Linked DNA regions of Homo sapiens: all the other regions are linked to region 4. Evidence: promoter capture Hi-C in 16 types of primary human blood cells and fetal thymus (Javierre and others, 2016). All regions are on one chromosome and are shown on one strand. Each heading gives the region's core, a stretch centred on a gene start or on the middle of the fragment in contact. The rest is flanking DNA. Distances are from core to core; before and after follow the strand shown. Region 1 has its middle 190 kb from the start of HAPLN1. Region 2 has its middle 29 kb from the start of HAPLN1. Region 3 overlaps LYSMD3 (LysM domain containing 3). Region 4 holds the start of CCNH (cyclin H). Region 5 has its middle 13 kb from the start of ADGRV1. Region 6 overlaps POLR3G (RNA polymerase III subunit G).

Region 1 (4,415 bases), core at 944-3,443, 3.5 Mb before region 4:
AACATCAGTGCCCAACCTAGAAAGTATTTATTTACTCTGTGAATGGCAGCTGGTCCTTTCTTCTCTGAGGGTAGGTTGTCAACCGATATATCTTTGAATCAATACCATTTTGAAGGAGTCACCAAGTTAATTTATCCTTTTAGTGTCTCCTGTATATGGATTGACAGCTAGGCAGACAGCAAGAGTATAAACCTGTGTTTCTTAAGATAAAATAGTTGGTGGGGAATTCTAGACTACTGTAATTATTATCACTGTAACTTAAACATAATGGCAGGTTGCCTTTTGATTCAGACTCTGATGGTGTAAAGGGATTTGAAAAATGAAACAAGCTTTCAGTTCCCTGTTTACAGAGGATTGAGTTGGCATCACATAGGCAAAGCAGGGACAAGATTTCAATAAAACTGACAGAAATAAAACGTCTTAATTTCCATTTATCCATAATTATGATTGTCATGCTGATTAATCACAGGCCATGTCTTAAGCTTCTCAGGATTTAGGGACAGGTGAAATTGTAATAATACCTTTGATCAATTATTGGGTGTTAATTATTCTAAATGAAATTGGTCCTCTTGACCCTTTCCTTGTCACACAGGAAAAGGTTCCTGCTTTGTCCTCTTGAGCCTCGTTTTGTTGGAGCATCTGCTTCCATTGGCTCTGACAGGAGCTCTTTCCTTAGGGAATCCCGTTCTTGCCTTTTTCCTTCTAATTATTCAGAATGTTTCCCTCTTTCCTTTAGCTACCTGCATCAAGCAAAGCTGTATTCAGTGATTTCTCCTGAGATGACGCTCTGCTGGCAACTCACCATCGACAACACAAATGTGACAAGAAGTCATCTAACAACTTGAAACTATAAACAAGAAAAAGGTATACCCATGAAGCTTAAGCAAAGAGGATATCCGTGTAGTAGGCTTCCTGGTGTTTCAAAGATCTTCCAGAAAAGGGACTTTATTATCTTGCACTCAGTGGGTGCTTAAAATATACTCTTTGATGATACCAATGATGATTGTTTTAGTTGTGCCTCTTTCAAAGGAAATACAAGGTAATCATTATGGCTTTTCAGCTGCTGAGTTGGGCAGCCTTTCAAATTTGTTTGCTGCTTATTCAATTTTCCTTAATATTAGCTGCACATGGAATAACCTGGGGAAGTTTAAAATATTGATGCCTGGATCTCATCCTCAGAGATTCTAACTTACTTGGGCTAGCATGTAGCCAGGACCTTGGGATTTTAAAAACCTCTTAGGTGATGTGTACATGCCAGCAAGGTTGAGAATCATTGTCTAAATTGCATTAGCTGGTATATGCTGGGTGCTTTGGTGCCAGCCCTGTGCTAGGTGCATTACATATGGCATCTTGTTTGCTCAGCAAAACAATGCCATGAAGTTGCAATTATTACCTCCATTTTGCAGATAAGGGGAACCAAACTCAGACAGGCTCAGTGAATTTTTCAAAGTCACATGGCTGGCAAACAGTGAAGGAAGGATTTCACCCAGGTATGTCCACAGTTATATGCTGCTGACCATCTTCACTGGCAGGTTTTTGGCCAACGTAGAACTCATGGCTGGTTACATGTTGTGCATGGTGTAAGGGAGATTCCTTTGTTGCCAGGAGGTTGAGCTGGTCAGTGTTTTCCAACCTTTCCTAGTGATGAGAATTTTCTGGGGTTTCCAAGCTTCTTCCCTGGAAACTGATTCAGCATTTCTGGATTGGAGGTCCAATAATTTTGTTGTTGTTGTTGTTATTGTTGTTGTTAGCAAATGCTTTGGCTGATTCTTACTTTAGAGAAGCTGGGGAAGCTCTGGATGAGATGACTGGTGAAGAATTCCATGATGAATTCTCCAAGTCCTTCTAAGGAAAAACTGAAAACTCTGTAGTTGTGAATCCCAATGAACCAACAGTGACAGGGATAACCTTTACACCATGTCCCTATAAGTTGCAGGCTCTGCACCTTACCTTGGCTCCAGTGTTTACAGTCTCCTCTTACTGCATCCATCCTAGCAGTGTGTTGGGACCAATGCCTTTTACATACTTCTGGGCCTGCTTCATCATTTAAGTTCTTTCCTCTATTCCAAGAGCTGATTTTGCTCATCTGTGCCCATCTTACCTCTATGCTCTGTGATGTCAAGTTGATAGCTTGAAATTGGCCATAAGAGGTTTTTATTTTATTTTTTAATTAAAATCTTACAATAGAGTGGTTTTATAGGTACTGACAAGTTACAAAGATAGAAGAGAGATTTCTCTTATACTCTTTGGTGGAAGTTTTTACAACATAAATATCAGCAAATGCTAAAATTAGGACTCTGCCCCATTTCCTACACACCATCCTGAAGCCCATTTTTAAACATTTAAGGCACACCACTATTTAAGCATTCAGCACCACCTACAGAGAGTGTTAGCATTGCTGGCTGGAAAAAGAAAAGTTTCATTAGATATTTTCAGATGTTTTGTTTCGGTAGGATTCTCACTTAAAAAAATATACAAATCTAGGAGAATGTATACTCAAAGGACAGGAGATGGAATGCAATGCTAATTCTACTTGATAAATATTAAACAGTGGTGAACATACTGGGAAAAAAGCAAATGATATCTGTATTTTGTATTTTATATATCTAAAGAGAAGAACTGGTAAATTTGATCTGAAAAATTCTATAAGCATCTATTGGCTCAAGCTAAGCCTCTAGGTATAATGCACTTATTTTTTATGAAGTGTTTATATAATTAGAAGCTTCACTGCAACTCGTGATAAAATTTTGCTTCATATTTACTTCATATAGTTTAATATTTTAAAATTTCTATCTTGGAGACGTATGGACTTATGACTTTTTCAAATATTTTAAGGATTTTATAAAGTGTTTTAATTTAGGAAACAAAAATCATTGCCAATTACAAAAGCCATGTTATGTGTCAAATCAACGTGAGCTTTGCTAAATCTAACTTCTCCGTCAAGAGCAAGGCCAGGTCTCACTCACTCCAGAAAGCATTTCCTGCCCACTCCAGCCAAGAATGTTCCTTCCTCTTTCTGATCTATTACTGCTTTTCCCCACAAATTGTTTATTTGGTACTTAACGTCAGAAGACCTGTATTTGCAAGGTTGTCTTTCAGCTGTCTTAAGATAGCTCCTATTTCATTACAGATCTTTGGCTTTGATATTTATCTTATTATGTGCATTTGTTTCATTTTTCTTGCACAGATTTCCTAGAATCTTAAATTTCCTTTTGTCTTTGGCAGAGATTTAAAGGTCATCTTTCTGATACCTATTTGGTGATATCCCCTTAGAAAATCTCCTCCTTGTTGCTATTTAGTCATTGAGCCAAGGTGGGCTTCAAGGGCATGTGACCCTGTGCAGTTACCCAGGACTCCTTGTTCAGAAGAACCCCACACTTGGTTTAACGCTCTGCAGTTGTGTCTGAAATTCTTCATAATTTTTGAACAATGGGCCCTGAATTTTCATTTCGCAATGGGCCTGCAAATTATGTAAGCAGTCCTGCATCCAGCTGTTGATCACTTGAGGACATTAATCACATTTTTTTCTTTATAAAAACCCCATTGCTTATCATGTAATTAGTGCTCATTAAATATTTTCTGATTGGCTTGGCTTGGTGGCTCACACCTGTAATCCCAACATTTGGGGAGACTGAGGCAGGTGGATTGTTTGAGCCCAGGAGCTCAAGACTGGCATGGGCAACATAGTGAGACCCTATCTCTAAAATACCTCTAAAAGAAAAAAAAAATTTTTAAATTAGCTGGGAGTGGTGATGCACGCCTGTGGCCCCAGCTCCTTAGGAAACTGTGGTGGGAAGATTGGGCTTGAGCCCAGGTGGTGGAGGCTGAAATGAGATGTAATCATACCACTACATTCCAACCTAGGTCACAGTGTGAGACCTAGTCTCAAAAAAAAAAAAAAATTCTGATTGTATGGAAAAGACTTCCTGCCAGTCTTTGCTGACCCCACCCCCAAAAAAATAGTCTAAGAGCGTGTACAATCTCTTTGGAGGTAAAACATTTCACAGGGGTAATGGGTTTTATTATGTAATTAAATAGTTGATGTCAGCTGTAGAAAAGGAGACTTTTTAGGTAAATAGACATATTACATTATTTTACAAGGTAACTAACATTAAAAGCAACTTTATAATACTAAAAATTAATGGTTTAGGCTTTGTGCATAACTTCAGTAACAATAATTTATGTTAAAAATATAATAACAACATAGGAATATCCAACTGAGATTTCTTGTCTCATTTTCACTTAAGCCTGAAGTTACAAAAACACCAGTTGGCAAATGTAGGTTTTGAATAATCAACTAGCAAAGCCTAAAACATTCCTTAATGTTTGTGAAAGTAAAGGAAAAACAAAAGAAAGGAAAATAATTTTTACTAGAGATTCAAACTGAGCTTGTACTGCTCAGTGGGAAACTTTAA
Region 2 (4,419 bases), core at 410-2,909, 3.7 Mb before region 4:
TCTTAAATTTCATTGTTATTGATTTCTAATTTAATTCTATTATGGCTAAAAAAATATGATTTTAAAATTTTAATTCCAGCAAATGTTCTGGGGTTTGTTTCGTGGTCCAGCATATGGTCTATTCTGGAGAATGCGCATTTGAAAAGAATGCGTTGCTTAGGGGAGTGTTTTATAGATGTCTGTTAGGTCTGGTTAGCTTGTAGTTATTAAAGTTTTCTATTTCCTTGTTGAACTTCTGCTAGATATTCTATGCTTTGAAAGTAGTATCTTGAAGTCTCCATCTGTTTTATTGTTGAACTGTCTGTTTCTCCCTCTAATTTTGTCAGTTTTGCTTCATTTATTTTGGGACACTGTTTTTAGGTGCTTATAAATTTATAATTGTTATGTGTTTCTTATCAACTGACTCTTTGACATTATAAAATGTCCCTCCTGTTCTCTAGTAACAAATTTTGTTTTAAAATCTATTTTGTCTGATATTGGCATAGCCACACCAGTTCTCTTTTAGTTACTGTTTGCATGGTACATATATTTTTTACATCAATTCACTTCAATCTATTTGTATATTTAAATATAAAGTGTGTTTCTGTAGGTATTCCATATAGGTAGGCCATTTATCTACTCTTCTAATCTCTACCTTTTGATTGGGGTGTTTAACCTATTTAATTACTGATAAAGTAGGATTTATGCTGGTCATTTTGTTATTTGCATTCTATGTGTCTTAGTTTTGTTTCTCTACCCTTTTATTTCTTCCTTCCTTTGTTTTAAATAGATGTTTTCTAGTGTACCATTTTCTTTTCCTTGCTGAGTCTTTATGTCATTTTAGTTATTTCCTTAATGTTTGCCTAGACAGTTACAAATTAACACCTTTACTTAAAACAGTCTAGTTTAGATCGCTATCAAATTAATTTGGATAGTATAAAAAAACTTTGCTCCAAAATAGATTCACTCTCTCCAATCCTTTTTGCTATTACTGTTATACGAATTGCATCTTTATGAATTATAAGCTTATCAACATAGCTTTATGATTATTGCTTTATTCAGTTATCTTTTAACTCATATAGGAGGAGAGAGTTAAAAACAAAAATACATTCATATTATCTTTATATTTACTTATGTAGTTACCTTTACTTAATCTTTTTATTTTTTTAATGTGGATTTGAATTTCCATCTGGTATCCTGTCATTGTTACCTGAATGACTCCCTTTATTATTTCTTTCTTTCTTTCTTTTTTGTTTTGAGACAGAGTCTCTCTCTTGTTGCTCAGGCTGGAGTGCAGTGGCATGATTTTGGCTCATTGCAACTTCCACTGCTGCCTCAGCCTCCCAAGTAGCTGGGATTACAGGTGTCTGCCACCACGCCCAACTAATTTTTTGTATTTTTAGTAGAGTTGGGGTTTCACAATGTTGGCCAGGATGGTCTCAAACTCCTGACCTCAAGTGATCCACCTGCCTCAGCCTCACAAAGTTTTGGGATTACAGGCGTGAGCCACTGCACCCAGCATATTATTTCTTACATGACATGAATGTTGGTGACAGTTCTCTCAGATCTGGTTTGTCTAGGGACATCTTAATTTCCCTGTCAGTTTTAAGGGATATGGGATTGTTGGCTGACCTTTTTTTTCTTTCAGCCCTTTGACTATGTCATCTTACTTACTTCTCATCTCCGTGGTTCCTGATGAGAATTCAGTTGTTAAACTTATTTTAGATCCCTAGTAGGTGACAATTAATTTTCCTCTAGTTGCTCTAAATATTCTCTTATCTTTGGTTTTTTGATAGTTTGACTATTATCATGGCCATTTTTGAGTTTATCCTACTAGAGTTTGCTGAACTTCCTGGACATTTTGATTAATGTTTCTCATCAAATTTGTTTTATAATCTAACATATGACCATAAAATATTTGGCCATTATTTCTTCAAATATTCCTTTTGCTCCTTTCTCTCTCTCTTTTTTTCTTTTGAACTCCCATTCTTAAAATGTGGTTATGGTAGATGATGTTTCACAGTTCTCTGAGGCTCTACTAATTTTTCTTCATGTCTTTTTCTGTTCCTCTGACTGAATAATCTCAATTGACGTATCTTCAGTTCATTGATTCTTCCTTCTGCCAACTCAAATCTAATGTTAAGTCCCTTGAATGATTTTTTTATTTTAGTTGTTGTATTATTCAACTCTAGAATTTATCTTTGGTTCTTTTTAATAATTACTATCTCTTTATTGATATTCTCTGTTTGGTGATACATTGTTTACAGTTCTTTTTTTTTCAATTCCTTAGATATGGCTTCCTTTAGATTTTATGCATTTTTATAATAGCTGATTTAAAAGCTTTGTCTAATAAGTCTAACATCTATGCTTTGTTATGGATAGTTTCTATTGATGGCTTTTTCTCTATTTATAGGCATACTTTCCTCTTTCTTCCTTCCTTTCCTTCCTTCCTTTCCTTCCTTCCTTCCTTCCTTCCTTTCCTTCCTTCCTTCCTTCTTTCTTTTTTTGACAGGGTCTCACTTTGCCACCCAGGCCAGAGTGTAGTGGCATGATCATGGCTCTCTGCAGCCTTCAACTCCTGAGTTCAAACAATCCTGCTGCTTCAGCCTGTCACGTAGCTGAGACTACAGAACTGTACTACCACACCCAAACTTTCCTGTTTCTTTGTGTGTCCTGTAATTTTTGTTGGAAAATAAATATTTTAAATAATATACTTTGATATCTTTGGAAACTAAATCACCATACACGATTATTGTTGCTGTCATTGGTCGTTTGCTGGATCATTGTTGCTGTTTCTTATCGTTGTTGTTCTTATTTTTTTGTTGAATGTCCTTCTTGGACTTACTCTCTATTCTCTATCATAAGCCACCGAAGTCATTGATAAGTTAGCTTAATGATCAGCTAATGATTACACAGTTATTTCCTTAATTGCCTTTATCCAATAAGTTTCCAGTCTGCTGAGGGGCTATCTGTGCCTTGGCAGTTTACAACTCTGCCTTAGTCTTCATTTCCTTTTTGTTCAGGATCTCAGGTTCAGCCAGGGGTGAACCTGTGTTTTTCCTCGATATGTATCAATCCCTGTACATAAACATGGCCTTCTAGATTCCCAGAAATATGTTGGAGGTCTTCCAAGACCCTTATGGACATTTAATTACCCAGATACTCTTTTTAAGTTTTTTTTGGTCTGCCTCTTCTTTTCTTCAACTGGTATCACTACTTAAGGCAGTTGCACTGCTAGCAATTGTGGCTAATTATTTTTGACAAAGATTCTATGAATAGGGATTTTCCTACTGAAGGAGTTTTGAGTCAAGTCAAATAATGAAAAGCCCTGCGAATGGAGATTTTCCAGAGAGCTGGCAGACAGAGAAACTAGAAGCAATTTTCAAAGGATAGTGCTTTTTAAGGAGATCCAAATCTAGTCTGCTTCCTCAAGTTGCTGCTAGGCTGATGGTTTTCACAGTTGCCATGGTTATAATGCTGCTGATTTTCATGACTCTTGTAGAATTGGGAAGTAAGGAATGGAAATAGGGGAAGCTAAAACACCACAGAAGCTTGCTGTCCTTACCAAAATTTAGGCATTTACCTTGAGTAAACACTCCTTAAATTCTTACAAGCCTTTAGTTCATTTCCAGGGTTCTGACAAAGTTGATTTTGACAATTTTGTCAATGTTTTAATTACTTTTATGGAGAAGTGAATTTTTGGATCTCCTTACTCTATCATTCTAAAAGCCTGCCTCCTAAACAGTCCCTTAATAGTGTCTGTTCTTCCCTACTTGGAGCAGGTATGTTATTTTTTAATAACATCTCTGAGCTCTAATTTCCTCATCTGTAAAATGAAAATTGTCATATATGCCTCATGGAGTTGTTATAAATATTAAATGAGAAATTACTGAGCACTGTGCCCGGACTATAGTAGGCTGTTTGGAAAGGTTGTTTCTTCACTTCCTCTTTTATACTTCTGATGTATTTTATACCATTTAAATATTTTCAAAATCTAACTTAGAAATCAGCCATGATTATTCATATTTGTTAAAGTCTACTACTCTACTTAGCTTTCAGTTTCTTCCATAATAGACCCCCTGTCTTCCCTACAGATTTTCAGTCATGCTTAGCTTTAGCCAAGCTGTTTCATTCACTTTTCCTTGAATTGCAAGTGATACGGAGTTTTGTTTCTAAGCATTTATTATTTCCTGAATTTGTCTTCCCTTTATTTCTGCTCTCTCATTGGTACTATGCAAACTATTTTTTATCCTCTAGCCCAAACCAGGGGATAATCAATGAATCAAGGCATTTCTTACTTCGGTGAAATACAGAAACATTTGGCTCCTGCTAGCAGAGTTATTTCTGGGTTTCTCCACCTATTAACTAAACAACCTTCAAACTTCTCTGTCCTCAGTCTACACACCTTTCAGGACTTCAGCTGTCATCTCCTTGTTAAAC
Region 3 (4,338 bases), core at 1,457-3,956, 3.1 Mb after region 4:
ACAATAATTGTATTCTCTTACTATATGGATCAAACTTTTCCATTCTGTATCACTCCTGTTAAAACCTTACAATATTTGTTCTCTTACTGTATGGATCAAACTTTTCCATAGTGTCTCAAAGCATTTCATCCCAAATAGTCTGTGCCACTCACTTCGGAAATAACTATGAAAATTCCCTTTGTTGTTTACCATATTTCCTCCTTGAAATCTTCTTCACATCACTGTTGAATGCCTGAAACATCTTTACACCTCATTGGAAATATGACCTATTTTTAATTATTCAGATGGTATGTTAAATTTCCCTAAGAAAATTTTCTAGGTTCATTAAAAGAAAGCTAATGTCTTATAAAACTACTGAATCACAAACTCTCCTCTCGGATCTGTACCTTGATGTTTTTTAGCCTTGTGTCTCATTTTGAAGTGTATTCCACCATCTACCTTCTATGACATATTCTGTAATTTATTTATCAATGGTCTTATTTCTCTACAAAACATTTACTCACATGTTTATTTGCATTTAGAAATAAACTTAGATATTTTCTGATTTAATAATGGCAAGAATTGATGTTTTCATACATGAGCAAGGTAGGAGGAAAAAACTACCCAGCTCTTACACCACATCAAAAAATTCATTTTAATAAAATATTTTATTAAATTTTAATATCAAAATTTGAAATGTTTTGATGAATTGTGAATTGTAATAAGAAATGTGAATTATTGCAATAGTTGCAAATGTAGAAGAAAACCTCATGACCATAATTTTTTTAGAATATAAATACATTTATATAATATAAACTTATAGACATGTGTGTTCCTATTGCAGAGAAGTATTACAGGTAATCAATAAAAGGTTTTTCAAGTATAAAAATACTTTACATCATGAAAAATTTGGGGGGAAGATGAAAATATTAATGAGAAAAAGGAATGATATAAAATCTCATGCTATTGAAAAAAGAGCTCTCATACACACACTTTCCACTTTTTTTAAAAATACAAATTTCAGGTAGCAAATCCTGGTGGTACTTAGAATTCTGTGGATGCATTTAAAGAGCACTCTAACAGTCTTATTTTTAAATGTTAATACAACATTCTGAAAATTATACCATTTGTAACTATGTTAAGTCATGAGGAAGAATTTAGGAAGTTCACTTAAAAATGTGCAATGAGGTACATAGTACATATATTTCAAAATTCTATTGGGAGTATGAGAACAAAAAGTTTGAAAACAAATGTTCTAACCAGTTTCCATATCAATGTGGATATAAAAATATCCTGCTAAGGCCTCAAGATGGACATAATGACACAGAGAGAAAATGGGTCCAAATAGAGTATAGTATCTATTAAAATTAAAAATACACCTTTCCTCTTATCTGGCAATCCCACTTTTAGGATCTATCCCACAGAAGTAAAGGCAGTGCCATTTAAAGATATAGTTGTGATGATATTTGCCACACAAGGTAAAACACCAAGAAAATCCTGAGTATCAATTAATAGGGCAATGGCTTAAAAATACTGGAACGTTAATACTACAGACATTATACAACCATTTAAAATAATGAGTTAATAAGGCTTTGAGGGATGGTCATGAGGGTGTCCATGATACACTAAAGAATGAAAAATGCAAGTTGCAGAGTAAAATGCATAATATAATCCACTTTTAAAAATACAAAGATTACTAACTCCCCAAATATGTATATATAAATAAATACTTATGAGCACAAAAAAAGGTAAAGCATTCCTACATGCCAAAGTGTTAATGCTGGTTATCTCAAGAAATTGGGGCAGGGAAAAGCTTTTCCTTACACATTTCCACATTTTCTTACCATTTGAATAAGAAGATAACATAGTTGAGTGTTTTTCAATACTGAAATTCGTGGATTTGGAAATACACAGAAATTCAAGTATTTGTTAAATATTTAAAAAGTAAACATCTACAAATGTGACACAGATTTCTTTTTTCTTTCCTTTTTTGGAGACGGAGTCTCGCTCGGTCGCCCAGGCTGGAGTGCAGTGGCGCGATCTCGGCTCCTGCAAGCTCCGCCTCCCAGGTTCATGCCATTCTCCTGCCTCAGCCTCCAGAGTAGCTGGGACTACAGGCGCCTGCCAACACGCCCGGCTAATTTTTTTGTATTTTTAGTAGAGACGGGGTTTCACTGTGTTAGCTAGGATGGTCTCAAGCTCCTGACCTCGTGATCCACCCGCCTCGGCCTCCCAAAGTGCTGGGATTACAGGCGTGAGCCACCGCGCCCAGCCCATGTGACACAGATTTCTATGCAAAAAATAAGAGCAAAAAATGGAGAAAGGAATAAACAAGGTAAAAAAGGACACAGAATTTATTTCAGTGTGCGTAAACAAATAATTTCTTCTGAATTGCATTATGTAATATTAAAACTTACCGTACAACAGTACTGAAGGGCTATTGCATTTAATGTATCTCCTTCTTGTATATCTTTTGTTAATACTATAATGTCGTCAAGTCTATCTCTTGATGTACTTCTTCGGACTTTCTCTTTTCCTCTGGATCGAAGTTCATACACTTCAGCATCCTCCTCCAAAATATCACTGTCTGAACAATTTCCAAATGCATGTACTTGACCACTTGACTGAACTCCTGGAAGAGGAAAACTACGATTCTGATGCCTCCCTGCCATAATGTTAAAATCTGGAGGAAAAAAAAAGCAGAGAAAATTTTGGAATGTAGCTGATCCAACTGACTGATTTGCATGCATCGTACATTCAGGACACAATCTTTTGTTTTTGTTTTAATGGTTTTAGTTATTTAAACATTTAGGTTTAAGTTCGTTTTTTTGTTTTGTTTTGTTTTGTTTTGAGATGGAGTCTCACTCTGTCACCCAGGCTGGAGTGCAGTAGTGCGATCTCAGCTCACTGCAACCTTTGCCTCCCAGGTTTAAGTGATTCTCCTGTTTCAGTCTCCCGAGTAGCTGGGATTACAGGCGCCCACCACTACGCCCAGCTAATTTTTGTATTTTTAGTAGAGACAGGGTTTCACCATGTTGGCCAGGCTGGTCTCGAACTCTTGACCTCAGGTGATCTGCCCACTTCAGCCTCCCAAAGTGCTACGATTACAGGTGTGAGCCACTGCGCCTGGCCTAGGTTCAGGTTTTACAACTGTTAAAGTAGAACAAACGTATTTGGCAGTGGAGACAAAGGTAAGGGAAGAAGAGGTAATCTCCTCTATTAGATCATATATCACTAAACACGTGGAGTAATTACATATTAACAAAGGCAAATTGCTATAATTCTTTTGGTAAAAATATAACTTATAAAATTAAATACTATAAAATATTACATTAAATATAAAATCGTAAATTCCCCTTATTCTGAGTATGTGAAGAAAATCAGAGAAATAATTGTGTTATGTCTTAAAAACTTGTGACTATATAACTTATAGCTCTGATGGAATCAAAGCATGTTTTATATACACATAATACTTTCATGAATTCAAAACTTTCCAGCTTGTTCTGCATTTCAACTTCATTCAGGATTGGAGTATCTTTCGTATTACTTCCTCCTGGACTTTGGTATTTATATTTAGTGCAGATATGCCTGCAATATAGGTTATGATTTTGCTTCCCTGGAAGCAGGAATTTTTCTTCCCTGGAAGCTTTTTAGCCAACTTAGAGTCCTCATCAAATTCAACTTATGGTCCATAAAGACTGTGAACAGATTTTAGGTTACTGTGTTCATTTATACTTTAGAAAAACCATTGTAAGACTGACTGGGAGCTGACCTAAGTTAAAAACAGGCATCAATGAATACTTTTTGTTTACTTGCATACTAACTCTCAACTCACCATCATCAAGTTGATCTATCTACTCTCTTTAATTAGGAACACAAGAACCTAAAAAACTAATTCCACATTCACAGTTTTGGCTTCGTGTTAATTATTCACATAAGAAGGGGCAGACTGCTTTCAGTTCTTGTTGGGAAAGATGGAGGGAAGTAGTAAGAAGCACTTTGGAGATAAAATTCTTTGCACTCAAGGTGGTTCAGACATGAAGAGAGGGAGTAAATTAAGCATCACACCAAGATTTCTGATTTGCATAATACATTGTGGTGCCATTCTCTGAGATATGGAAGAGGAGCTGGGGGAGGAGGTGCATGGCTATGATTATGAATTCCTCTAAGATAGTAAAAAGGAATGGCAAATAGACAAATGGGCTATATAGTCAAACTCAGAGAAAAGGTCTAGGTTAGAAATAAAATTTCATGACTAATTTGCACATAGATGAAAATGAATTTGTGAGTACATATATTACCTAGAGAGTATAGAAAAAGAAGAGGGTCCAAGACTGAGCCTTGAAGAAGTCCAAAATT
Region 4 (4,141 bases), core at 563-3,062:
GTAACTAAGGTGAATTTTTAAGACTTGAGTGGACAGGGAATTTAGAAGAGGTCAAATTTCACAAGCCAACTAAAGGACATTATATTTCATCACCACTGTAACTTACCACAACAGATCTTGGCATTGCTGGCTTAAACACCGAACAGAATTCCAATAACCTTTTCTCATAGTATTTGCAGAGTGTCATTTCTTCATGAGGCTCAAGAAAGACTGGATCATTCGGAAGAACCTTTAGATCAACAATTACAACACAAGTTCAATGAATTCAATGAATTAAACAATTGTAAAACATTTTTCTCTATCTAGATTAAATTTAGTTTATATATCCAACGAAGGGTATATATCACGCCTCATTTTCTTTATAGATTCGCTAATCATTACACAAAATAGCTGTAGGAAAATATTTAATAAACTAAAACTGTACCATCATTTCACGACTTTTCGGAATGTCAGCTAGACCTTTGCTTCATTAAAGTATAAACAATCATGACAGGCTGTGTGCACATGCTCACAGTTGTGATATCATTATTTATAAATTAAAAAGTAGACAGACTTTTTAAAATATGATTGGAAAGCTTCCAACATCCGTTTCTCGGTCAGTCATTACGTCACAAGTTGTAAAAAAACAGCAAATGTTTCAATAAATTTCTGTTATTTTAAGCTACCCAGTTTGTGGTGATTTTTTTAAGGCAGCCCTTAGGAAACTAATTCAGGTGCTAAAATCAGTGATATGAAATAGATGTGAATTAAAGGTAGAAAGTAAAGTAACTCAGTATCGGTAATTTGGAGGCACTGAACACTTGCTGGAGTGGAGCTTGCAGGAAAGATTAAACCAGTCCGAGAGCTGTAACAGAAGGAACTTGGCTAGCGGGCCATAGTCCAAACCATCTTCAGTCACTTGGTTTGTACTTGGTCTCTGGTCTCCCTCCCTCATCCAACCCATTCACCACGAGGTTGCTAGAGCGCTGTTTCCAGAACGGAAATCTGATAAGGTTAGCTTCCCATTTTAAATATTTCAAAGGTTCCTCATCCTTTCAGTGGAAATGTTAAACGCCTCACTTCCACTTACAAGTTCCCTTCCTACCCTCCCCAGCCATTCCTGCACAGGTACTCAACTTCGGCCACATACGACCACAAACACGTCCACGCACCATCTCTGTAACTTCTGACCTCCCTCCCACTCTGAACGGTGGTTCTGACTGCCTGGAACTTCCTTTCCCATTTTCTCCGCATTGGCTACTGGGAAAAACCTTCCCCAACATCATCTCTTGACAAGTGAACGGCTCTTGCCACGCACTACCTTAGCACACTACTTACTCTCTTCTTCACTACGTTACAAAGACTGGTTACTTGTCTGCCATTCGACGACGGGGATGGCGTTGTTCGTCTTTGTACCCACGGAACCTGGCAAGGTGCTCGCTTATTTTGATAGAAAAACGCACTCCGCGCCGCAGAGGCAGAGAAACGACGGAGCGAGATTGTCCTGGGAGCCAGAAGAGCTCCCGCAGCTGCTCAGAATTTAGTGACCGGGCAACTGGGCAACCGTTGGGAAAACCTCACCTTCCCGTTGGCCACGGCTTTGCATCTGAATTTGCGGTTGGCGTCAGCCCGCAGTCTTGCCAGCTGCTCCTCGCTGGAGAAGGTCCAGTGCCGCTTCTGACTACTGTTGTGGTACATTATGGAATCGTGACCAGGTCCAGAGGGTCTGCAGACGAGAACCCAAACGCATCAGCGTCCTGGCGTAAAACACCCGTACCCCCACCGAAGATCTCGCGGAAGCCTAGGGCGTCCGGCTAGCCGGCGCTGGCGCGCTGTCGTCACGATTACGCGGCCAGCCCGTACGCAGTTGCATTTCCGGAGCGGACTAGGAACAGACCGTATCCCGGGTTCGTTAGGGCGCCCACTGAGACGTAAGTGGGCGGAGCCTAGAGAACGCTCCTCTCGGTGAGTCTGGGACATAGCTCCGCCCCTTCCAGGCAAGATTTAAAGGAGAAGCGCCCGGCAAGAGTGTTCAAGGGGCATAAACTGAGGGTACGGAGTAGGCAGATGTAAATTCACAGGGGATAATCAGAAATGAGGAAAGGATTTCGTAGGGTGCTCATTTTTAAATAGAGGCCTCACTGAAGTTGACATTTGTGAAAAGGCTTGAAAGAGTTGAAATAGTAGGTTGATCAATCATGTAGGGAGATCACGGGGCCCAGAAAGAATAGGTAAGATCTTCAGGCAGAAGCATTCCTAGCCCTTTTCAGGAAGAGTTTGGAGACCAGTATTCTTGAAGCACTACCAGAAATCTCGGAGAATGGAACATGGCTGAAAAACTTGAAGCAGTGGATGCGTATTGGCCCTTACAGTTCTGCCACTTTTGTTGCCTTGTCTGTTCTTTCTCTGTGCTTTTTTTCCTTACCCTTCTGTTGATAACTAGCCAATCCTCTCCCTCTGTTTTCATCTCTGAAGCCAGGATGTATGGTAGTATTCGTTTTATTGAGATTCCCATTTTCATTGCCTCTAGGGAGCCTTACAGTAAGCTATCATGAAAATTAAGGTATTTACTATTTTTTAAATTAATAGGACTTTCAAAATTGCAGGTGAGGTTCAAAATTTACATGGATTCTGGTTTGTCCCATTTAGGCATACCTTATTCTCTCATGTATTTATTATATATCCAATCCGAAAAATGGATTTCCCTATGGCAAATAGCTTTTCTAAAAAATAAATAAATAAATAAAAAGAAAGAGAAAGATGATGAGACCTAGAGAATTTAGGTCTTGAAAAGCCCACACAGGTAAAAAGAAGAAGTGGCAGGATGACTTTAACTCTGCTTTCTATTAAAATGTTTTTAGGGGCTTAAGAAAGGGAAAGCCTTTTCTTTTTCATTTTTGTTGGGTACAGCTGAGGTTAGAGTTTGCCACAGTTATCTGAATTCCTCAAACTTATGCCATTTGTGGTATATAATTTTGGAGAGCCACACACTCAACATATGTGGCTAACCTGGTCTCATAAATTGGCTAAGAAAAGAGAGAAAAAGAGAAGATCAAAGGGCATGGCAAATTGATTACAATGAATTGTGAACAACCTAAAATGTTGCATGTTGGGGAAAGAATAATTTAAAAGAGAAAAACATAATGGTACAAAAGATAGGAAAATAAGTGATCTAGATAATTAAATGTCTATATAAAGTCTTAGCCTCATGACTGTTATATATATCATATAAATTCTTTTCATTTTGTTTTTCTGAAAGATATTTGACAACTCCTTAGTTTTATGTAAAGGATAATAAAAATAGGCATTTAAAAGAGTTGGCAGACTGTGATTTCCACAGAGATATGAGTAAAATTTCTGAATGTCATTTAGGAAAAATATATGAAAAACCTGGCATTGCTGGTGTAATTTTTTTTAAACCTTGAACAAATTTTAGTCCATGAAAATTGACATTGATCTTATTTTTCAGATGTAGTAGGAATTGGGCTCTGTCTAAATTAACTGTCTGAGGAATACAATTGTTGCTGATGCCCTAACATTAAGGCTCATGTATGGTTTTTCTTACTAAGGTAAGCAGACTGGATGCTGTGACAGTCTCCTACTCAGCCTGTTGTGCGACAGTGTTTCTTTGCTATTGCTACCACAGGAGGCACACTGGAATGCAGAACTTGTGCCTTTACCTATTTCCATTTCTAGTTTCAACTAAAAAGTAGCAAGTGTTTCTCTTCACTTCTATTATTTTTACTTATTTATTTATGGAGAATTTCAAATATAAAGAATACAGAGAAACATATTTCAAAAATTATCAATACATGGCCAGTTCCCTTCTACCCTCCACCCACACCTCCATTAGGTTTTTTTCTTCTTCTTCTTCTTCTTTTTTGAGACAAAGTCTTGCTCTGTCACCCAGACTGGAGTGCAGTGGCACAATCTTCGCTCACTGCAACCTCCGCCTCCTGGGTTAAAGCCATTCTCCAGCCTCAGCCTCCTGAGTAGCTGGGACTACAGGCTCATGCCACCATGCCCAGCTAATTTTTGTATTTTTAGTAGAGATGGGGTTTCACCATGTTGGCCAGGCTGGTCTAGAACTTGTGGCCTCAAGTGATCCGCCTGCCTGGGCCTCCCAACTCCATTAGTTTTAAATCACAATGTCCCTGCTACT
Region 5 (4,276 bases), core at 421-2,920, 3.1 Mb after region 4:
TTTTAAAATGCAGTCCATGATTTAATCAAGGATTATGCATTGCATTTAGTTGTCAAGCTCCTTTAGTTTCTTTTAATCCAGAAGTGTTTTCCAGCTTCTCTTTCCCCATCTCAATTTTTTGGTCTGACATGATGATGGTATTTTTAAAAAATATAGGCTGTAGTTGTTTCGTAGACTACACTTCAATTTAGATTTGATTCATTGTTTCCTCATGATTAGATTGAGATTAAATGGTTTTTGGCAAGAACCCTACATTGGTGATGTTGGATACTTCTCTGTGCATCATATCAGAAGGCACATAATGTCAGTTTTCCTCATGATTGGACACCGAGCACTGTTCTATGTACTTTATGCATTTAATTTTTAAAACAAATTTATACTGTAGCTATTGCTTTTATTTATTATAGATTTCAGTACTTTATACAAAAGGACACTGAGAAATTAAGTATCTTGTCTGAGGTCCCAGAACAGTGTCCTGAACTCAGACAGTTGTTCCAGATTCTGCAAGATTAGCTAATAATTACATTGTGAAGAAAGAGACAACTGACTCTGTGATTCTTAGCTCATCACCTACCTCCAGGGTATATAAGTGGAGGCCAGAATATTGATCTTTAAGCCTTTAGTAAGAATCCTCTTAGAGTTGTCATTGTGCTGTGCAATCTACCTCTGCCACCCCTAGGTAAAAATGGCAGACAATCAGAGGATCACTTGGAGAATTTGATGTGGAGTTTGAGGGACAGAGTGACTGTTACTTGACTCATCTTGAGAAAGTCCAACAGTGAGTTTGACCCTGCCCTGGAGGCAGAATAATTGTAGGAGATAGGTGTGGTGTTCTGAGGGCCAGCTGTGGATAGGACAAATGTGTCTAAATTTCTTAAGGCACCTCATTCACAAGACCCATCAGAAGGGATGAATGAACCCCTGTGGAAAGCATCTGTGATGGACTGCCAGAAGTTAGAGACTGGGGGGTTAATTGTAAATGGGTTGCCCAGGAAGACCTAGCCCATGTTGGGGTCCCCACAGATGACAGCGCCAAAGAACTCATTAAGAAATAACATTTTTTTACATCCCTTATGCCTTTCCCTGCTTTCCAATCCTGGAAGAGCCATAAAAGAACATAGCAAAAGGGGATAAGTAGTACAGTTGGGAGGAATTGAAAAAAAGGATAAGCATGCCCTCTTTTTCCACTGTAGGCTTTATAACCTAGGTCAGGCAACGATCTAACTCTCAAAGCTTAATGAGAGGTTAAGCTTTGCTTTGTGCTATCTGAGAAATAAGGCTACTTGTTAATTGAAAATGAATGTGACAAATGGGATCTACTCAAGGTTTCATCTTGGAACAGAAAGGAACGAATAACAATGCAAGGTGAGAAAGTGGTCAGAAGGAACAGAATTTAGTTAATACGATAAATTGGCTACTGAAATATTGAACCGCTTTCTAGTATTTCTACACTGGGTTAGTTTTATACTGAACTCTGGGAAAGAACTGTTTTCTTGGTAACTGCCAGACTGTCTCTGACCTTTGACTCTAATTTAGGAAGAGTTATTAAAGTTCTTCTCTTGAGAAATTGTCCAGAGTTTTGTGCTGTGTTGCTTTTATGTGAACTGCAAATAGAACACTTCCAATTGTTGAGTGTAGTAGATTATCACTGGGAATGTGAATTTTTTTCAGTAATGCCACTGAAATTCTGCCCCTATAGTGGGAGCCAACTGCAGTTGTCCTGAGCATAGCTAAACATTTGTTTGGATATTGATTCTCCTCTAGCTGCTAAGCTCTGGAGTATGGATGACGACTGTCTGCTCTCCATCTCCCATCCCTAGTGCTATATTTTTAAACTCACTTGTACAGGCAGCACTCAGTGGCCAAGTTCTTTTTCTCTTTCAACTCAGTCCCATTCTGCTCCTCTTCTTCACCCTTTCTTCTTCTTTCCTTTCAACACTGTTCCTAAAATAAGCCAACTTCTAATCTTTGAACTTTACCTTCATTTCTAGCACTAAATTTTCTCTCTAAACACCTAGAGGTGTTTCTGATCAGAGCTGGGATGATCATCCACAGATAGGCTTTGCTCTTGCCCTCTAGTTCCATTAGTGTAAAGCTTCAATCAACCCCACTCCCACAGCTCCTAGTCCTCCCTCTAAGATCTTCCAATCCCCTCAATAAGCCAAAAATGCCTACTTCTGGGCCCCTCAAGGTACCAAAGGGAGAAAGGCTGTCACTTTGCTTACGTCAGCATTTTGTAGAAGGGTATAAAAGCAGAGCTGATCCACTTCTTCAAATGGGGAAGAGCATCCTCCTTTTACCATCATCACAAATAGATAAACGTTTCTCTTAAAGTGCCCCATGACAGCTGAGAATAGACTCAGACTGAGTAATGAGATATTTTTGTATATGCAACTTTAAAAAAATTCTTAAAGGTAGAAAAAAGAAACATTAATTGATTCATGTGTTTATGGAATTCCATATGAGGTGGCTAAAAAAGCTAAATAACTTAAATAAATAAAATAAAATTAAGTCAATGTATTTTGTTCCATTGAGTGATGATGACAAAGAACAAAATAGGCTGCCGTTTTAAAATAGGAAGAAAATTATATATTAGGTTGAACCATATGAAATTGCTCTTATTCAACAATTCTGGTAATATTGAACATTTTAACATAAGAAAATATCAATTGCATGTGGTTCAGCCTAATACTGATGTTTTAAAGACATTTCTGATAGTATTTCTCTGCTGTAAATACTTTTCTACTTAAATGATAATATATGTTAGTCAATTTTTCTTTTGTATTATTTTTAATTACTTCATAATGCCAGTAGAGTGCGTTGGCTGTGTGGTGATATCAATTAAAATTTAAGAATAAAAAAAAAGGCATATACACATCTGGTTATGATTTGCCTTTCTTGCTCTCCAGTTGCATAATTCAACTTGATGCGCATAATTCTCTTTCCTTTTATTCAATTCCATGTGGTGGCAGAACTACTACCAAAAGATGAATACTTTCAGTACCTTTCATATGAAAGCTGCCGCTTTCACATTCTGTCCTATTGATACTGCATTTTGGCAGTGGATAAAGGGACACAGTTAAAGTCTCTGCTCATAATTGGTTTTATCTGGGAAAGATTTTCTTTGAACTAGTGGCCACCCATGCTTTTATAATTATCAGAAATTAACTAGCTCAGCATTTCTTGTAAGAAATATTCACAATTCACTTCCTTGCTTTTGGAAGAAAAGAAAAGAAAGACAGAAAAGGAAAGAACTAAGGAGTATTAGAGAACTCCGTTTTGTTTGGGAATATTCCATGTGAGATTGCTCTAATGCAATGCTAAAACTGTGTGTTTCTTCATGGTACTCTTTGAAACACAATCTCAACCTTTTTTCAGAACCCTACAAAAAAAAAAAAAAGAAAACTTGAAAAGAATTTTTGTTTTCTGAAAAGTGAGACAATTTCAGTGTAAGTTTTCTGATATGACCTGACATTTACAAGTCACAAAGTATTAAATCTTTGTAGAATATGTATATGCATTTCAATATGATTTGAAAGGTAGAGCACTCCTAACTTCAAGTCTAAAACTGTTGGCAGAGATGTTTGTGTCAAGTGGACCAGGCATCCACACATAAGATGTAAACTTTGCAAGACCTTGCACAATCTCCAGACACACCATAAGTCAACCCTCTTTTCTCACTGGGCTTGGTTTTCCCACCCATGAGGGAATAGACAGTGGGAGCTTTGTTTGTAGTGTCTTTGTTTGCTTGCAGCCACTGGTAAAACAAACATTACTTCAGACTGAAGAAGTCCTTGGTTGAGCTTGGGGGCTCTGGGAGAACTTTTCCTATATCCCAACACAGATGACTTCATCAGGTTATCTGGTGTAGACTCGCCCCACTTAGGATAATTGGATTGCAGCATCCTGTGCATATCCATGTAGGACTGGATGTTTAGTGAGAGACTCCCCACCCATGGGAAGGGATCTGAAAGAGGAATATTGAAGAGAAACTTGCCCTCTTTCACTTTAGCCTGACTCTATCTGTCAATGAAGCTTCAAAGGCACTTCAGGGTCTTGTCAGGCAGCATTATAGTCTTAAAAATTTCTCATAATTTCATCTTTGGACAGTACTGATGAGCTCTGCACTGGACATAAGCCACTGAGGGCTGAAAATGTACACAGTGAATCCTTGAATTGAGAAAACAGTCTCATTTTGTGACCCAATCTACTAGAAACTTACGTGATTATAAAAACGTATTTGAAGAATTCTCAGTATTTTGCAATAGAAAGGGTC
Region 6 (4,122 bases), core at 1,493-3,992, 3.1 Mb after region 4:
TGGGTTGCACACTGTAATCTCCTGGGATGCTTTAAAAAGTCCTGATGCTTAAATGGTACCTCCAGAGCTTCTGATTTTATTGTTCTGGGGTGAATCCTGGGTTTTCTTTTCTTTAAAACCTCTCTCAGTGATTCCAATGTGCAGCCAGGTCCCACTCAAAGAAAGGGGGAAAAAAGCCTTAATAATGGGCTGACTGAATTGTCCTTCTGTGGGTAGATTTGCTCATCAAATCACAGTGCACAAATAGGGTAAGCTTGACATTAATTGTGGAGCTGTTGCTATATAGGAAGCACTATGGTAGACAGTAGGGAGGATAAAATCCCTGCTTAACACAGAACCAACAAACAGCCAGGCGCGGTGGCTCATGCCTGTAATCCCAGCACTTTGGGAGGCTGAGGCAGGCACATCACCTAAGGTCAGAAGTTCAAGACCAGCCTTGCCAACATGGTGAAACCCCCATCTTTACTAAAAATACAAAAATTAGCCGGGCTTGGTGGCAGGCACCAGTAATCCCAGCTACTCTGGAGGCTGAGGCAGGAGAATTGCTTGAACCCGGGAGGCGGAGGTTGCAGTGAGCCGAGATCGCACCAATGCACTCCAGCCTGGGCGACAGAGCAAGAGTCCATCTCGGGAAAAAACAAACAAACAACAAACGAAAAACATAGGTGAAACTCCTCCCCTTTGGAAAAGATCAATTTCCCAAAAGTGGTATTCTATTTCTTTGAAAATTGACAAGTGTGGCAACATATATCACCTGAAATTTTTTTTTTTTAATCTGTGTTTTAACAGGAGGATCTTTCCAAGAGCAATGTGGGATGAAGTGGTTGTTGTGGTTGCTGAGGGACTTAAACTGGCTTTTTTGGTGAAAAGGGATGTAGCAAGTCAGGGAGGCAGAGGGAGTAAGTTGCAGTGGAAAGACTGGTATTCAAGACATGACTATAGTGAGTCAGGAGAATAGGGTGCAACCATCTTAAAAGGGCTCTGAGTAAATAGGGAGTTTGGATTTAATTCAGTTAGCCAAGAGGGAAGATGAGGAGAGTAGCAGAATCAAAACTGTGCTTTAGGATGAGTAATGTGGATCCATAAATTAAACAGGAAGAACAAGGGATACCACAAAGTTTGCAGTTAATCAGAAGTGAGGTGAAAAAGGACTGAGCTGGATTATGGTAGAGAAATTGCAAAGAAAGTGACATTTAGAAAGAATATGATTGATCAGTGCTCTCTGGCTCCTAGCACAGTGCCTGGAATGCTCAATATTGGTTGAATGAATGACTCAATGAAATTGGGCCATATGAAGTAGAGAAACATTTGGAGCATGAGGAAATATAGAAAGCACTAAAACTCCTTTATTCTAGAGTTTGGTGTATTGAAAAAGGAATGAGACAGTGGTTAACTCAACCACAGTCTCACTTGTAGGCTGTTTCTTTCATGATACATTTACCAGGATCCAGGGACTCTCTCTGAGCTCTGCAGGAGAAGAAAATGAATTTATCAGCTCCTCTGTGTACAGGGTAATGGATTCATGAAAACTAACTTAAAGAGATGGGTTTGTAGGCTGGAATGCCACATAATTATTAAATGTGTCAAAAGCTAGGAAGTTTTTCTGGCAAGGGTGGTACCTTCGCTAATGATAGCAATTCATACACCCAAAGATTGCTTGATAAAAATGGAAATTTAGAGTCAATAGAGTTTGTTATTTTTCAAGAGCTGTTCCATGAAGCAGTGCTAGCTGGTGTCCTCTTTTTTTAGGGTGAGTTTTCCAAACTTTTCCAGGGCCCACCTCCAAAGATTCTGGTATGGTAGGTTTGAGGGCTTGAAGAAAGCCTAGGACTCTATGTTTAGCAGGTCCTCCAGTTAATTTTCATGATGAGGAAAGTCTGGTAAACTTTACCTGGAATTGTTTTTAATCTTTAAGTAGTGGCAAATCCTGGACTGGAGTGCAGCCCAGTGGTTTTGAGTAGGCCTAGTGGGCTCTTGCAGTTGTTTCTTAGAGTGAAAGGTGTGACCCCTTCTGCTCAGCAGTTTTGATACTTGGGAGATACGCTTTCTCTAGGCTCAGCATATGTTTTAGTGACTCAGCAATTGAAACAAGTCCATTTGGATATTTTCCTGCTTTTTTAATGTAGAGAGATGTAATAAGCTGGGCTATTAAAATAAATATAGTTCCTGTATGAACTTTATTTCAAGGTAACTAAATAATAGATAAGAGAAATTGATCCCTGGTGGAATTCCAATTAATAAAACAGAAAGAAAGATAAAATTTGTATACCACCATTTTGCAATTCATAATGGAAAAATTGATCTAGATTGTGATCATCAGTGACTGCTAAAATCATTAGGTGAAAACTGATGGACACTTTATACTTAATGAAATAGACCAACACCTGAACCCATGACCAGCCTGATCAATACCAAGAGGGAGACTTTATGTTCATCTTGATGTAATAGAGAAGGAAAGAGAGAGCATCCCTTTTCAGTATTCTTGAAAAAAAAAAAAAAATCAAACCCAAATCTAAACCTCTAGTTTACCTGTTTATTGGAAATACACCCAGAGAATACAGGAATATGTTAAATCACATCTCAGGTATAAATCAGTCAAATCCAGAATATGGGAAATTATATAGCTTTGCTACTTTCAAAGTATGGTTTACAAACCAGTTGATGTCTCCTGAGACCTTGATAAAAATTCAGATTCTCAGTTTCTGTCTGCAGCCAACTGATTCAAAATCTGCCTTTTAACAAGATTCCTAGGTAATTCTCTTGTACCTAAAGTTTAAGAAGCATTGTATAGGGCACTGACCTAGTTTCTTAGACAAATAGAAAGAAAAAAAAATGGGAAAACCATTACAGTTTAAAAGAAAGTTAAATGTCATGTATTTTTTATATCTTGATTTGAACAAATTAACTGTAAAAACATTTATGTGATAACTAAGAAATGTGAATGTTAGTTCTATATAAGATGATGGTATAGAGTTATTGTTAAAATTGTAGATGCAATGTTATTGTGATTTTTTTAAAAGCCCTTAACTCTGAGAGAGGATACATACTGAAGAGTTTAAAATAATCTGAAGCATGGGAGTAGAAAAGTATAGTTAAAGTACAATAGTCATATACGGATAATTTTGAAGCTGAGTAGTGGGTATATGGAGATTTAATATACTGACTTTTGTGCATGTAAGTATAGTAAATGTAAGTATTAGTAAACCAAAAAAGGCATAGACTTGTAGTTTAAAACGACAACATTAAAGATGACAAATCAACTTTTAGTGTTCAAGCAGTTATGAAGGAAAACTCAAATATGGAGGCCTGCAGGGATAAATTTACGAAATGAATAATGTAAAACTATGAAACCCAAAGGGAGGGATTGAAACCAACTTTGCAAAAGTCATAACTGAGAAAATTATGACAGTGAAAGATATCAGACCTAATTGATCCCATCTTGCTTCTAACCTCTGAACTGTCCTTGTTCATTCTTGGGCGTGAAACCACCTTTGCAAAATTATGACTGAGACAGTGAAAGAGATCTAACCTAACTGTGACTCCATCTTGCTTCTAACCTTTAAGCTGTCCTTGTTCATTCCTGGGCATAGGCTGAACTAACTTTGGGAGGAAATTAGTTTATGGTTTGAAACAAAGACGATAACAGACTTTCCCAAAACAAACCTCCTCCTTGCCTGGGGACTAGACTGCCATTGTCGGACTAAGAAATTATTCACAAGATTAGAAATTATAGTTTCGGAGTCATGCAGCTGGAGGCTACAAGATTCTGACCCTCCCTAAACCACTCCAAAGATCAGTGCTTGAGATATTTTGCAGACCCTGCACTTGATGGATCAGGGGGCACTACCCAGATCGATTAACTGACTCTTCTGATCTTGTGGCCCCCACCCAGGAACTGACTCAGCAGAAGAGAACAGCTTTGACTTCCTATGATTTCATCCCCGAGCCAACCTATCTGCGCTTCCAGTTCACTGGCCCCCTACCCACCAAATTAACTTTAAAATCTCTGATCTCTGGCTGGGCGCAGTGGCTCACAACTATAATCCCAGAACTTTGGGAGGCCAAGGCGGGTGGATCACCTGAAGTTGGGAGTTCAAGACCAGCCTGACCAACATGGAGAAA

Evidence for each region. Contacts are between HindIII fragments. The CHiCAGO score rates a contact against its expected background, and 5 or more counts as called.
Region 1: a contact is called between a fragment that was not itself captured here and the fragment with the promoter of CCNH in region 4, in 1 of 17 cell types (M1 macrophages). The highest score is 6.4, in M1 macrophages.
Region 2: a contact is called between a fragment that was not itself captured here and the fragment with the promoter of CCNH in region 4, in 1 of 17 cell types (M0 macrophages). The highest score is 6.4, in M0 macrophages.
Region 3: a fragment that was not itself captured here is called in contact with the fragment with the promoter of CCNH in region 4 in 7 of 17 cell types (neutrophils, total B cells, non-activated CD4 T cells and 4 more); the score reaches 12.5 in neutrophils.
Region 5: a contact is called between a fragment that was not itself captured here and the fragment with the promoter of CCNH in region 4, in 2 of 17 cell types (naive B cells and total B cells). The highest score is 7.3, in naive B cells.
Region 6: a fragment that was not itself captured here is called in contact with the fragment with the promoter of CCNH in region 4 in 1 of 17 cell types (naive B cells); the score reaches 5.7 in naive B cells.

Annotation. Positions count from the first base shown.
Region 1 is chr5:83,911,410-83,915,824 of GRCh38, forward strand. No RefSeq gene overlaps it. Among named protein-coding and RNA genes, the nearest start is that of HAPLN1, 190 kb to the left of the region's middle. The HindIII fragment of the contact is 1,053 bases long and covers 1,668-2,720 here.
Region 2 is chr5:83,747,494-83,751,912 of GRCh38, forward strand. No RefSeq gene overlaps it. Among named protein-coding and RNA genes, the nearest start is that of HAPLN1, 29 kb to the left of the region's middle. The HindIII fragment of the contact is 1,315 bases long and covers 1,003-2,317 here.
Region 3 is chr5:90,522,639-90,526,976 of GRCh38, forward strand. LYSMD3 (LysM domain containing 3) reads right to left here. Exons shown (of 3, transcript NM_198273.2): 2 at 2,397-2,662. The coding sequence starts at 2,651. Among named protein-coding and RNA genes, the nearest start is that of LYSMD3, 4.8 kb to the right of the region's middle. RefSeq lists an enhancer at 1,628-2,129. The HindIII fragment of the contact is 1,833 bases long and covers 1,791-3,623 here.
Region 4 is chr5:87,411,118-87,415,258 of GRCh38, forward strand. It overlaps CCNH (cyclin H), which reads right to left and starts at 1,813. Exons shown (of 9, transcript NM_001239.4): 1 at 1,561-1,813; 2 at 107-229. The coding sequence starts at 1,677. It overlaps LOC105379066 (a long non-coding RNA gene), which reads left to right and starts at 1,865. Exons shown (of 3, transcript XR_948543.1): 1 at 1,865-1,944. RefSeq lists enhancers at 1,440-1,569, 1,600-1,769. The HindIII fragment of the contact is 6,680 bases long and covers 574-4,141 here.
Region 5 is chr5:90,543,486-90,547,761 of GRCh38, forward strand. No RefSeq gene overlaps it. Among named protein-coding and RNA genes, the nearest start is that of ADGRV1, 13 kb to the right of the region's middle. The HindIII fragment of the contact is 845 bases long and covers 1,249-2,093 here.
Region 6 is chr5:90,478,844-90,482,965 of GRCh38, forward strand. All of the region lies in intron 1 of POLR3G (RNA polymerase III subunit G), which reads left to right. Among named protein-coding and RNA genes, the nearest start is that of POLR3G, 6.0 kb to the left of the region's middle. The HindIII fragment of the contact is 4,983 bases long and covers 252-4,122 here.